Linked DNA regions of Homo sapiens: all the other regions are linked to region 2. Evidence: promoter capture Hi-C in human tissues and cell types (Jung and others, 2019). All regions are on one chromosome and are shown on one strand. Each heading gives the region's core, a stretch centred on a gene start or on the middle of the fragment in contact. The rest is flanking DNA. Distances are from core to core; before and after follow the strand shown.

The links. Contacts are between HindIII fragments. The study calls those that stand out against the background at their distance.
Region 1: a contact is called between a fragment that was not itself captured here and the fragment with the promoter of MGAT3 in region 2, in 7 of the 25 tissues and cell types used here (H1 embryonic stem cells, IMR-90 fibroblasts, heart left ventricle and 4 more).
Region 3: a fragment that was not itself captured here is called in contact with the fragment with the promoter of MGAT3 in region 2 in 5 of the 25 tissues and cell types used here (IMR-90 fibroblasts, bladder, dorsolateral prefrontal cortex and 2 more).
Region 4: a contact is called between a fragment that was not itself captured here and the fragment with the promoter of MGAT3 in region 2, in 5 of the 25 tissues and cell types used here (IMR-90 fibroblasts, mesenchymal stem cells, mesendoderm cells and 2 more).

Annotation. Positions count from the first base shown.
Region 1 is chr22:39,489,091-39,491,790 of GRCh38, forward strand. MGAT3 (beta-1,4-mannosyl-glycoprotein 4-beta-N-acetylglucosaminyltransferase) reads left to right here. Exons shown (of 2, transcript NM_002409.5): 2 at 1-2,700. Among named protein-coding and RNA genes, the nearest start is that of MIEF1, 12 kb to the right of the region's middle. RefSeq lists an enhancer at 1,094-1,388. The HindIII fragment of the contact is 7,379 bases long and covers 1-2,700 here.
Region 2 is chr22:39,455,688-39,458,387 of GRCh38, forward strand. MGAT3 (beta-1,4-mannosyl-glycoprotein 4-beta-N-acetylglucosaminyltransferase) reads left to right here and starts at 1,325. Exons shown (of 2, transcript NM_002409.5): 1 at 1,325-1,870. RefSeq lists silencers at 1,251-1,310, 2,041-2,310, 2,321-2,450. The HindIII fragment of the contact is 12,980 bases long and covers 1-2,700 here.
Region 3 is chr22:39,508,298-39,510,997 of GRCh38, forward strand. All of the region lies in intron 2 of MIEF1 (mitochondrial elongation factor 1), which reads left to right. Among named protein-coding and RNA genes, the nearest start is that of MIURF, 5.4 kb to the left of the region's middle. RefSeq lists an enhancer at 2,279-2,700. The HindIII fragment of the contact is 6,788 bases long and covers 1-2,700 here.
Region 4 is chr22:39,419,204-39,421,903 of GRCh38, forward strand. TAB1 (TGF-beta activated kinase 1 (MAP3K7) binding protein 1) reads left to right here. Exons shown (of 11, transcript NM_006116.3): 7 at 316-427; 8 at 2,624-2,700. Among named protein-coding and RNA genes, the nearest start is that of TAB1, 21 kb to the left of the region's middle. The HindIII fragment of the contact is 5,458 bases long and covers 1-2,700 here.

The DNA.
Region 1 (2,700 bases), core at 198-2,697, 34 kb after region 2:
CTGAAGCCCTTGTGAATCAAGGGTCAGGCCTTTGAGCTCAGAAAATATCCCTCCTGTTGGGAGAGGGCGCAGGCCGTGACGTCTGGGTGGCCCTTATGACTGCCAAGACTGCTGTGGCCAGGAGGTGCCACTGGAGTGTGCGTGGTGGTCCCTGGGTAGCGGGGGAGGGTAGGCAGGATTGGGGAAGAGAGCCTGCAGGATCTCACCAGGCAGCCTCTGGGGGGTGGCCAGGCCGGGAAAAAGCCCACCATTTGGCATCCCTGGGCCTTGGGCTCCGTGTGGGAGACCGGCCTGCCAGGAGGACCCAGGGCTCTGTAAGTAGATGCATTTGGGTCCAGGAGGAAGCGTGGACACCTCGTAGGGAAGAGATGAAAAAGCCACATCCTACCAAGAGGAGGTGCTGAGGGATGCTTTGCAGTGTAGTCAGAAGTGCTGGGCCAGATGGAGACAGAACTCCACCCCCTGCCGCAAAGGACAGGACCTGGCTGCCCTGGGATGCTGGTGCCTGAGTCTGTCTCTGTGCACCCCTCAGGCTGTCGTGAGCCAACACAGGGGCCTGGAGAACCCTGAGGAGCTTTCCTTTTGGTTCTAAACCCGGCGTTGACGTTCCTTCTCCCTTTCACATTGCTGTCTTGTGGACTGTGCACTCAGTCCTTGCAAGGCCAAGAGTCCAGTTGTAGGTGTGGCCTTGAGGGGGAAGTGGGGAGGAGAAGACTGACATGAGTCCTCTGCACGGATCCGTCTCTCCCTCCCCATCACCCCTTCCTTCTGACACCCAGTCCCAGCTGTCCACTGTCCCAGGTGCAGTCACTGTTGTGCCCTTCCTTGGGGCAGGCTGGCTGGGGGCCAGAAAGGGGCCATGAGGCTGTCTTGGGCCCAAAAAGGGACAATAAGGCCAGTTGTATGCTTCCTGTTCCTCATAGCTTGCCTTGGTGGGGATGTCTTTGTTGGAGTTGATTCTGAGCTGCTGTGATTAGGAGACCCTGAAATACAGTGGTTTAAGCAAGATGGAAGCTTGTTTCTAATTAGTCTAGATTGAGATGGCCCAGAGCTGGTAGGGCAGCTCTGCGTTTCTTCATACGCACCTTCCAATTCTGGGTACACAGCGGCTGCTCCAGCGCCCACCCTCCTGTGTGCATCCAAGCCTGGGGGAAGCAGAAATAGACAAGAGGGCACACCCACTTTTTGCTAAAGGCATGAGCCAGAATTGGCAGGCTCACCTCTGCTGGCCTCTCATTGGCTGGGACTCAGTCACATGGCCACAAGCAGCTGCTAGGGAACCTGGGAAGTGTAGTCTTCAGCGGGGCCGCCATGTGCCTGGCCTCACCTTGGGAGTTATCTTATTGATGGAGGAGAAGAGAATGGATATGGGGGACCAGTAGCATCTCTGGGAGAGGGGGAGGGAGCAGCAATAACTCAGTCGTCGGATCCAGCTCTCATTGTCAGAGTTTCCGGAACAGCTTGCTCCTGTTTCCCTCACTGTGCAGCCCAGGGCTGGGGGCAGTGAGGAGCTTGCAGCTCTGTGGGAAGGGGAAACACCCCCTCCCCTCGGCCCCTCAGACGCTACCCAATGATGCCGGTTTGCAGAGTTGGCCTGTGGAATGGCTCATGTTTGTGCGTGTGTGTGTGTATATTTATGGGCATGGGTGCATGCTTGGTGTGTATTTGTACATGTCTGTATTGCTGTGTCCCTGTAAATACATGCTTGTGTATGGATGGAAGAGGCCAGGCCCAGGCCTGGCCTCTTCCTCGGGCCTGTGGCCACACCTCCTGCAGCTCCCCAAAATGACTGAGGCAGAAAGCCCTTGGGGAGCCTAGAAAGCAAAGCTAAAGGGGATGCAGGGTCTGTCTGTCTGTCTGTCTTTCAGTCTGAGGAATGAGAATCCTGACCTGAGGGCTGTGCAGCTGAGAGCCCACTACCTCCCCAGCCCCTCTCGGCCCCAGCCGCATCATCCCACCTGTCCCCTCCCCCCCACCTCCAGTGGGGCTTTCTCCAGATGTCTTATGGTTGGGGGTTTCCTGATGGGCCAGGAGAGGAGGGCATCTTCTTGCGACAGCACTGTCTGGGTTAAGTGCCCAGTGAGGGCATGGTGTGGGGAGCTGGCCTCAGAGGAGCCGCTGGTGGGCAAGCGTGAAGTGGGCTGAGGGGCTCTGAGCCACTTTGCTCCCATCTAGGGGACTGCCCCCCATGGAACTCCTTTGAAGTCACAGCAGCCTTCCTTTCTGTTTGCTCTTGGGGCTGAGAGGTGGCTCAAACACTCGGGGTCCCTATGGCTCTGGGTCAATCTAGGCCAGGCTGCACCCCATGGACAGGGAGTCTCAGGGCTCCTGATCATGCCCAGGCCCTGGCCTGGGGCCTCCCTCCTTGGCAGCTTTCCCACCCCCACGCCCCTGGCATCCTCAGTTGCTATGGGATGCCCCTCCAGGGCACCAGCTCAGGGCTAAGCGAAGGAAGATAGGAGCAGCTCAGAGCTGCCAGGCTCTGCCTTCCTCACAGACCTGGTGGGGCAGGTCCTGTTCACAGCAGCAGGAGTGAAGGCCTGGCCATCGGTGGAGAGGGCAGCTGTCAGAGGGCTGGGGGCCAGGGCACAGGATTGAAGAGTTTCACATATCATCACAGCATACACTGGGAATTTGGTGGGGGCAGAAGAACCCAGGGCCACTCCCTCAATATGAAGGGAAACCAAGCTGAATGTGACC
Region 2 (2,700 bases), core at 75-2,574:
ACGAAATTCAAATTTTTGTGTCCATAAAGTTTTATTGGAACACCGCCAGGCTCATTCTTTTACGTATTGTCTATGGTTGATTTTATGCTACGATGGCAGAGTTGAGTAGTTGGGACAGAGACCATATGGCTGGCAAAGCCTAAAAGATTTACAATCAATCTCTTAAAGCAAATGGTTTGCCCACCCTTGCTTAGAGAGAGCCTCCAGGAAGAAAAGAGCAGTGAGGGTGACGTTGAAGAAGGGGGCAAGACTAGGTCACCAGGGGCTCCCTGTGCCCCGCCCAGGCACTGAACTTAAGCTGAGGGCAAGTGGGAGCCATTGAAGGTGCAGGCAGGAGAGTGACCTGCTCAAGTGAATGTTGGAGTAGGATCACTCTGCCTCCTCAGCAAGGATGGATGAAGCTGGGCACGGAGGCACCTGGAGCAGGTAGACCAGCCCTAGGCAGCCCGGATGGTTCAGCAAAGGCCTCTGGGACTATTCTGGAGCACATTCGCTGGGATATAGAATAGGTAGCGCATCCCTGCACCTTCGACGATGGCGGCGCAGAGATGTCTGCTGCGTACCCACAATGCCTTGTGCCTCGCACCGCGGGAGGAAGTGGCTGCTCTGTAGGCCCCAGAACGGAACCACTTGAAAGGCGGGAAACACGTGGGGGACGCCTCTGAGCCCTGAGAGGAATGGCCTAGAGCAAGGCCACGAGGAGCCAGGGCACGACACGGTGGGCCCTCGGAGAACCGCTGGTGGGCAAGTGGCAGGAGAGTAGGCTCAAGAGGGTTGGCAGGGCCGACCGGGCCTAGGGTGGCCGGGTGAGGGGGGCGGGGGAGGGGAGGCCCCCCCAGTTACCCCAGGAGTGCGCAGGTGGCTTCGGGCATGTGAGGGACGGAGGGGGTCGGACGGAAGGACACAGGCCGGTGTACAGCGGTCACCCACGCCCCAAGCAGACACACAGACTCTGCAGACACCGTAACAGGCCCGGCACCGTGCACACATCACAGGCCCAGGCCTCTGCACATGGTCACAGATGCCTATGCGAAATCCCGGCCCAGGTTCACGCGGGCACAGGCGCATCCACGCACACACCGCAACACGGATCTGCACGTCCATGCACACACAGGCACAGACTCGGGCACACGGAGTCACACCGACCCGGGCACGCTGCGGAACGCACCCGTCCACGCATACACAGAACGGGACTTGCTGCCCCGCACGCACACCAGGCCCGCACTCCGAACTACCCGCATTCCCCGCACACGCCCCCGCGCAGGCCGCCCCGGGCCGTGGGCCGGCGCACGCACGGTCACAGGAGGGGCGCGCGCACACTCGCACTCACACACACTCGCTCGCACACGCACACACTCGATCCAGCACGCGCGGGCGGCGCGGGGCGGCGGCGGCCGGAGTCTGCGGTGCGAGGCGCCCCCGGCCCGGCGCGGCGGCGGAGCCCGGCTGGCGGGGGAGGGGAGGGGGTTGCGGAGGGGGCGGGGTGGGGGCCGGAGCCGCTTGAGCCGGCGGGAGCGGGCACCCCTGCGCGCCGCGCTCGGCCTCGCCTCCGCGCCCCCCGCGCGCCCGCCGCGGTCCCTCCCCCGCGCCCGTCCGCTCGCCGGGCCCCCGCCGCCGCCCCGGGGTGCAGCCGAGCGGCCGCGCCGGGTCCCCGGGACGGGGTGGAAGTGGGGGTGGGGGGAGGGGATCGGGGCCGGGCCGGGGCCGCGCTGCCTGCGATGCCGGGCGCCCGCCGCAGCCGCTGCCGCCGGAGCCCGGGATGGGGCGAGAGGCTGCGGCGGACGCCAGCATCTCCCCGCCGGGGACCCCGGGGGCCGCGGAGCCGCCGCCGCCGCTGCTGCCGCCGTTGCTGAGACCCAGCGGGCGATGGGTGAGTTGACCCCGGCGTCCTGGGGGGCGCCGCGGCCCCTCTATCCCCGCGCTGCCCGCCCTCCCGCGCTGCGCTTGGCGCCCCCCGCCCGGCTCCGCGGCCCACTCCCCGAGCGTGACCTTAGGGGGCGGGCGCGGGCGCACTGGGGCTGGGGGCCCGGAGGCCGCGGTGGGGGCGGGATGCCGGGGAAGCCGCTCGGCGCGGGCCCCCTCCCCCTACCCGCCGCTCCTCCGAGCTCCCCGGTCCCCGGAGGGCAGAGCCTCAGCGCCCGACCCCCTCCCACGGCCGGGCGGGGGACGTCCCCGAGGCGCGGGGCTCGAGCCGTGCTTTGTGCGCGGCACCCCCCAGCCTCCGGCGCGGCTCCCCCACAACCTCCGGCGCGGCGCGGGGCTGGGGTGGGAGGCCTCCGCGCCCGCCTTCCCCACCCCCGACCCCAGACTGCGGCGGCGGCAGCCGAGGCCCAAGCGCAGTCGGGGGCTGGGCGGGTGCGGGGGCTGCGGCCGTAGCTACCCCTGGGGACCAGGCAGAGGCAAATGTGGAGAGGGCCCCCGGCCATTTACCGGGGTGGGGGCCCCCGGCTCCTTGCATTGCTCTGCCCAGGGCGGGGGAGGGAACCTGGCTGAGGGAGGGCGCTATAAATATCTGCAAATAGTGAGTTCTGGAACCGGGAGTGGGGAGGGGAGTGCGCCTGGGTGTGTGTATGGTGGGGTTCCTGAGCTGGGGTGCAGCAGGAAGGGATGCCGCGCGGCCAGACCTAGTGGTCTGAGGTCGGATGACCCCCAGCCCCGGAAGATGCCCCTGAAGGCCCCTGATGGGGTGTGGGCAGACAC
Region 3 (2,700 bases), core at 99-2,598, 53 kb after region 2:
TGTCATCTGTAGCACCACCTTGCTCTCACCAGTCATCAGAAGGGCACCAAGGACTAAAATGGTCCAGGGAGGCTGCTTCTGCCCTGAGTGAGGAGGTGCCCTTCTGGCCCTGCTGCATCACACTCAAGGATCATTTAGAGGGCACATGTGTCCAGTGGCTCTCCCTATTGTAAATATTTCAGTAAAGAGTTAAAACAAGAGACATTGTTATGTGTGGGGAAATGTATAGTGTTCTGCTTTTCTCCTGATTGGGTTATCTTGCCTCTGCTAAGTTTGGTTTGTCCCGTCTCTATCTCAGTGGCCACTGGAGAGAGGGTGTCTGCTGTTCTTCCCTGATTCCACCTGTAAATACAAACGTTATCTCTTCTCCCTGGCTTTGCTCTGTGCATTTGAGGTGGGAATGTACTCGGTTTGGCGAAATAGTCTTTCATGTCCCTAAACCTGAAGCCTCTATTGACTGTAAATGGTAGAGAAAAGGAAAGTACCCCCAAGGTGTGAACTCTAGTTAGGGAAAAAAATATTTTTGGGCTTGACAGTGACTCTTAGTTAACTCAATTACTGGAATAATAGAGTCAGAAATATTTCTTTGTTTTTCAGGGAGGTAGAGGCAGGAGCGTAAGATGTGGAAGCTAGAAATATCCACTTGTAACACGGTATTAGAAGGAATGTTATTTTACATGGAAGATAATCCTCAGTGATCCTTTTTTTTTTTTCTTCAAGACGGAGTCTTGCTCTGTCACCCAGGCTGGAGTGCAATGGTGATTCTCCTGCCTTGGCCTCCCGAGTAGCTGGGATTACAGGCATGCACCATCATGCCTGGCTAATTTTTTGTATTTTTAGTAGAGATGGGGTTTCACTATGTTGGCCAGGCTGGTCTTGAACTTCCGACCTCGTGATCCACCCACCTTGGCCTCCCAAAGTGCTGGGATTACAGGTGTGAGCCACCGCGCCCGGCTGATCCTGTCTCTTGATGTCCTCCCATTCTGGGACGCTAAATGGTATCCGACTTTGTTTTCCCTTATGTCATTCCTGGTGTGAAGGACACGGGATATTATAGAGGAGAGTGGCAGCATGCTGAGTGGTATTCCGATCTGAATCACACTGTCATCCTTTATCCGGCTCAGGCCCAGGGTTCTAACTCCACAGGAATGGGCTTATCTGGGGACTGCTGCTGCTGCAGTCAGGAAGACTCCACTGTAGTCGGGAGCAGCACTGGCCTGAGCACTGCACTGGAGGCCAGCCTCTTCGCTGTGGTGCCCAAGTACTTCTTTCAGGTGAACACATTTTTAGTTCCTCTTCCAGGTGTAATCGAGCAGATGGGTGTTTTGTTTTCCAGTTAGCAGTCGAGTCTGCAGTGTCCTTTGTGTTTTTTATCTCCCGGTATACCAGTCTCACCTAAGCTTTTATAGTCCCCGCTGCGCACTTCTCTCAAGAAACAAAGCATTTGTCAAGTAGGAGGGTCCATGGAGGGACCTTTCTCACATATGGACGTGTAGTTTCAGTTCCGTGTGCAGGATGTTTGGTACATGTTGTTTTGTGTTTTGTTTGCAGAAAGTAGATAGAATAAGGGCCGATTTGATTTGGGTAAGGGTGAGCATGGTACAGTAGAAAAAGCGTCATACAAGGAGTGGGGAGTCCTGAGTTCTGGAGATGACTGTGTCGTTTTGTTTTCGTTTTTGAGACGGAGTTTAGCTCTTGTTACCCAGGCTAGAGTGCAATCGTGTGATCTCGGCTCACTGCAACCTCCGCCTTCCGGGTTCAAGGGATTCTCCTGTCTCAGCCTCCTGAGAAGCTGGGATTACAGGCATGCGCTGTCACATCTGGCTAATTTTATATTTTTAGTAGTGACGGGGTTTCTCCATGTTGGCCAGGCTTGTCTTGAACTCCTGATCTCAGGTGATCCGCCTGCCTCGGCCTCCCAAAGTGCTGGGATTACAGGCGTGAGTCACCGTGCCCGGCCCATTTTGTTTTTTTATTTTTATTTTTAAGAGATGGGGTCTCACTCTGTCACTGAGGCTAGAGTGCAGTGGCGTGATCATAGCTCACTGTAGCCTCAAACTCCTGGGCTCAAGCATTCCTCCTGCCTCAGCCTCCTAAGTAGATAGGACTACAGGCATGTGCCACCATGCTCAATTTATTTTTATCTTTTACTTTTGGAGATGGGGGTCTTGCCATGTTGCTCAGGTTGGTCTTGAACTTCTGGCCACAAGCGATCTTCCCACCTCAGCCTCCCGGGTAGCTAGGATTATAGGCATGAGCCACTGCGCCTGTACCATTTCTTTTCTCTGAGACCTGACACATCACCTCCCTATGTTGAGAACCTCTGTGTGAGGTGATGTGATGGCATTAGATGAGCTCCAAGGTCCCGCTCAGATCTAACCTTCCACAAAGTAGTGGCCAAAGGACGAAGAAATGACCTGCATTATAACCCCTGTGATGGGGTAGAGAGACCTGCTTTATAACCTCTGTGAAGGGGTAGAGAGACCTGCATTATAACCCCTGTGAAGGGGTAGAGACCTGCATTATAACCCCTGTGAAGGGGTAGAGACCTGCTTTATAACCCCTGTGAAGGGGTAGAGACCTGCATTATAACCCCTGTGAAGGGGTAGAGACCTGCATTATAACATTGTGAAGGGGTAGAGACCTGCATTTTAACATTGTAAAGGGGCAGAGAGAGGGCTGTTTTGCATGGTGGGGTAC
Region 4 (2,700 bases), core at 26-2,525, 37 kb before region 2:
AGCTGCTCCTTCCCTTCCCAGTGAGCTCCAGGCAGATGTGGGGCACACGGGATGGGCAGGGAGACGGCAGGCAAGCTGCTCCGTGCCAGGTGGTGCCTGGAGGACGGGCTCTGAGTGAGGTGTGTCGTGATGGGCGTGGGGACTGAGGACACCAGGGACTTTGGGTCAGCTGCTCTCCCAGGTGCCCTGGTGTTGTCTTCATTTCCTATTCAGTGGGTCCTTATTGCCTTCTTCCCATGACTGTGTCTCTGTCCCCTTCTTTTTGTTCCTCTTTGTGAACAAGAAGCAGGATTGTTGCACTGTTTCCCTCCGTAGGCTTGGATGCTGGAAAGATCAAGCAGGTGGGGATCATCTGTGGGCAGGAGAGCACCCGGCGGATCGGGGATTACAAGGTTAAATATGGCTACACGGACATTGACCTTCTCAGGTAGGTGCCAGCCCAGCTGTCCCCTGTGCTTGAAAGAACAGAAGGTCCTAGGGAGGCCAAGATGGGAGGATTGATTGTGCTGGGAGGTCGAGGCTGCAGTGAGCCGTGATCATGCCACTGCACTCCAGCCTGGGCAACAGAGCAAGACCCTGTCTCAAAAAAAAAAAAAGGTCCAGAAGGCCTGGGGCAGACGCAGACTGTAGGCCCCAGTGACACATGTGCAGTCAAAGTAGTTCAGAGCCCAGGCAAACTCTTTCTTCCTCCCAGAGAGGTTGGTTTGGGGCAGGTTAGGCCCAGCAGGCCAGGAGTTGGGTACTGTAGAAACAAGGGGTGGAGTTGAGCTGGGCCAAAGCTGAGGGCAGCAACTAGTGCCACAAGGGAGGCAGGCGAAGCCAGAGTTGGCATGGGATGGACAGACCAGGCCTGTTGGTCGGTGCTGCCCATGGCTGCAGCAGAGGTGTGAGATGAATTGTGTATTTCCCTCTGAGGACACCTCCTCTGGACATCACCCCAGCGCTCATGGCAGCAGAATGGGCAGTCATCATCACACGGCCAAGCCCGTGCAGAGCTCTGGATGTACCTTCTTTTATGCATTCCCTACTCAGGCCCCCTGAGGCAGTCACTGCCATCACCCCAGAGGCATTTTCATAAGAGGAAACTGAGGCATGGAGACATCAGGCAGCCCACCCTGGTCATGGGGCTTGAACACAGGCAGCCTGAATTTGGAATATGTGTCCTTAACCGTCAGGTAACCTGTATGTGAAGTGTTGGTTGGGGAGATAGGCGCGTCCACTTGCCTGATGCCAATCATGGCATTTAATGTCATGGCCAAGGCTGTTCCCAAAGCCAGAGTTCCCATCAACAGAGGCCTCATGGCCTAGAAAGTGCATGTTAGAACTCCTTGCCCTCACGCGATCTAGGCAACTGAGTGTCGAATATTTGTCCCTAATTTGTGGGGTCCTGTTTCCTTTATTGGAAAGGACATCCATAGTTTAAAACACTTCAGACAGTGCTGGGGTCTATACAGGGAAAGGAAGTCTTCCTACACCACACTCTAGGACTCGCTGCCTCCCCAGAGGCTGCTAGTTTCTTGTGTATCCTGTTCCAAAATCTGGCCACATGCACATATACACACACGGTGTCTCTGTGTGTGTGTGTGTGTGTGTGTGTGTGTGTGTGTGTGTGTGTTTGTCCTGGGGGCCAAGGAGCCTGCATCCTTTTCGGAACACCCAGGTGCTGGGGTGTCTCTCTCTGTGTGTGTGTGTGTGTGTGTGTGTGTGTGTGTGTGTGTGTGTGTTTGTCCTGGGGGCCAAGGAGCCTGCATCCTTTTCGGAACACCCAGGTGCTGGTGTGTCCTGCCCCTCCCAGGTGCTGGTGTGTCCTGCCCCTCCCAGGTGCTGGTGTGTCCTGCCCCTCCCAGGTGCTGGTGTGTCCTGCTCCTCCTTCTTTTCTTTTTTTTTAAACCCTAAGGTGTAATTGGCATATGCAAAGCTGTGCCTATTTCATGCATACAACTTGATGAGTTTGGAGATATGTTTACACACCCCTCACTGCTATCATTAAAGGTGCTCATCTCTTCATTCTGCTCACCTGCAGTTAGGATGGCGTCATTCTGTGTAATAACCGCTCCCAGGGCCCAGCCCTGGCTGACGGACCCTCAGGAAGTTCTTAGACTCCGCTCTTCTGGATGGTGTTGCCAGCACCTCCTCATGTACTTACCTCCATGTGCACACACATGTGTTGGCATGTAATGACTCTGACCCCAGTCACTAAAGGATCCCTGTACACATGGAGAGTATCTGGGGTCTCAGCCATCTGTTTTGGAAAAGCCCAAATAATAGCAAGAGGCTTGGGCTCCCAGGGATAATCCCTCCCTCTTGCTGTCCCACACCCTGCCCTGCCACCACCGGACCCTGTGAACAGGACGTATGGAACAGGCCAGAATCGGGCATTCAACCTTTGCCATCCTGACCTCAGCTGCCTGCCAGTTTTTATGGCCTTCCAAGCTTTATTTTAGCAGCTGCTGTAAGACGATGGGTCTATTTTTCTGACCTTCTCTTTCTCTCTTTTCTTTTCCTCTTGTCAGGTTGTGTGTTTTATTTTACATTCTGGGCATAGATTCCTCCCCTCAGCAGAATCAGCATCCACCTGCGGGCTGTTCCAAGCAAAGCTCTTCCTTCCACTCTCTCCCCATAGCGCTGCCAAGTCCAAACCAATCATCGCAGAGCCAGAAATCCATGGGGCACAGCCGCTGGATGGGGTGACGGGCTTCT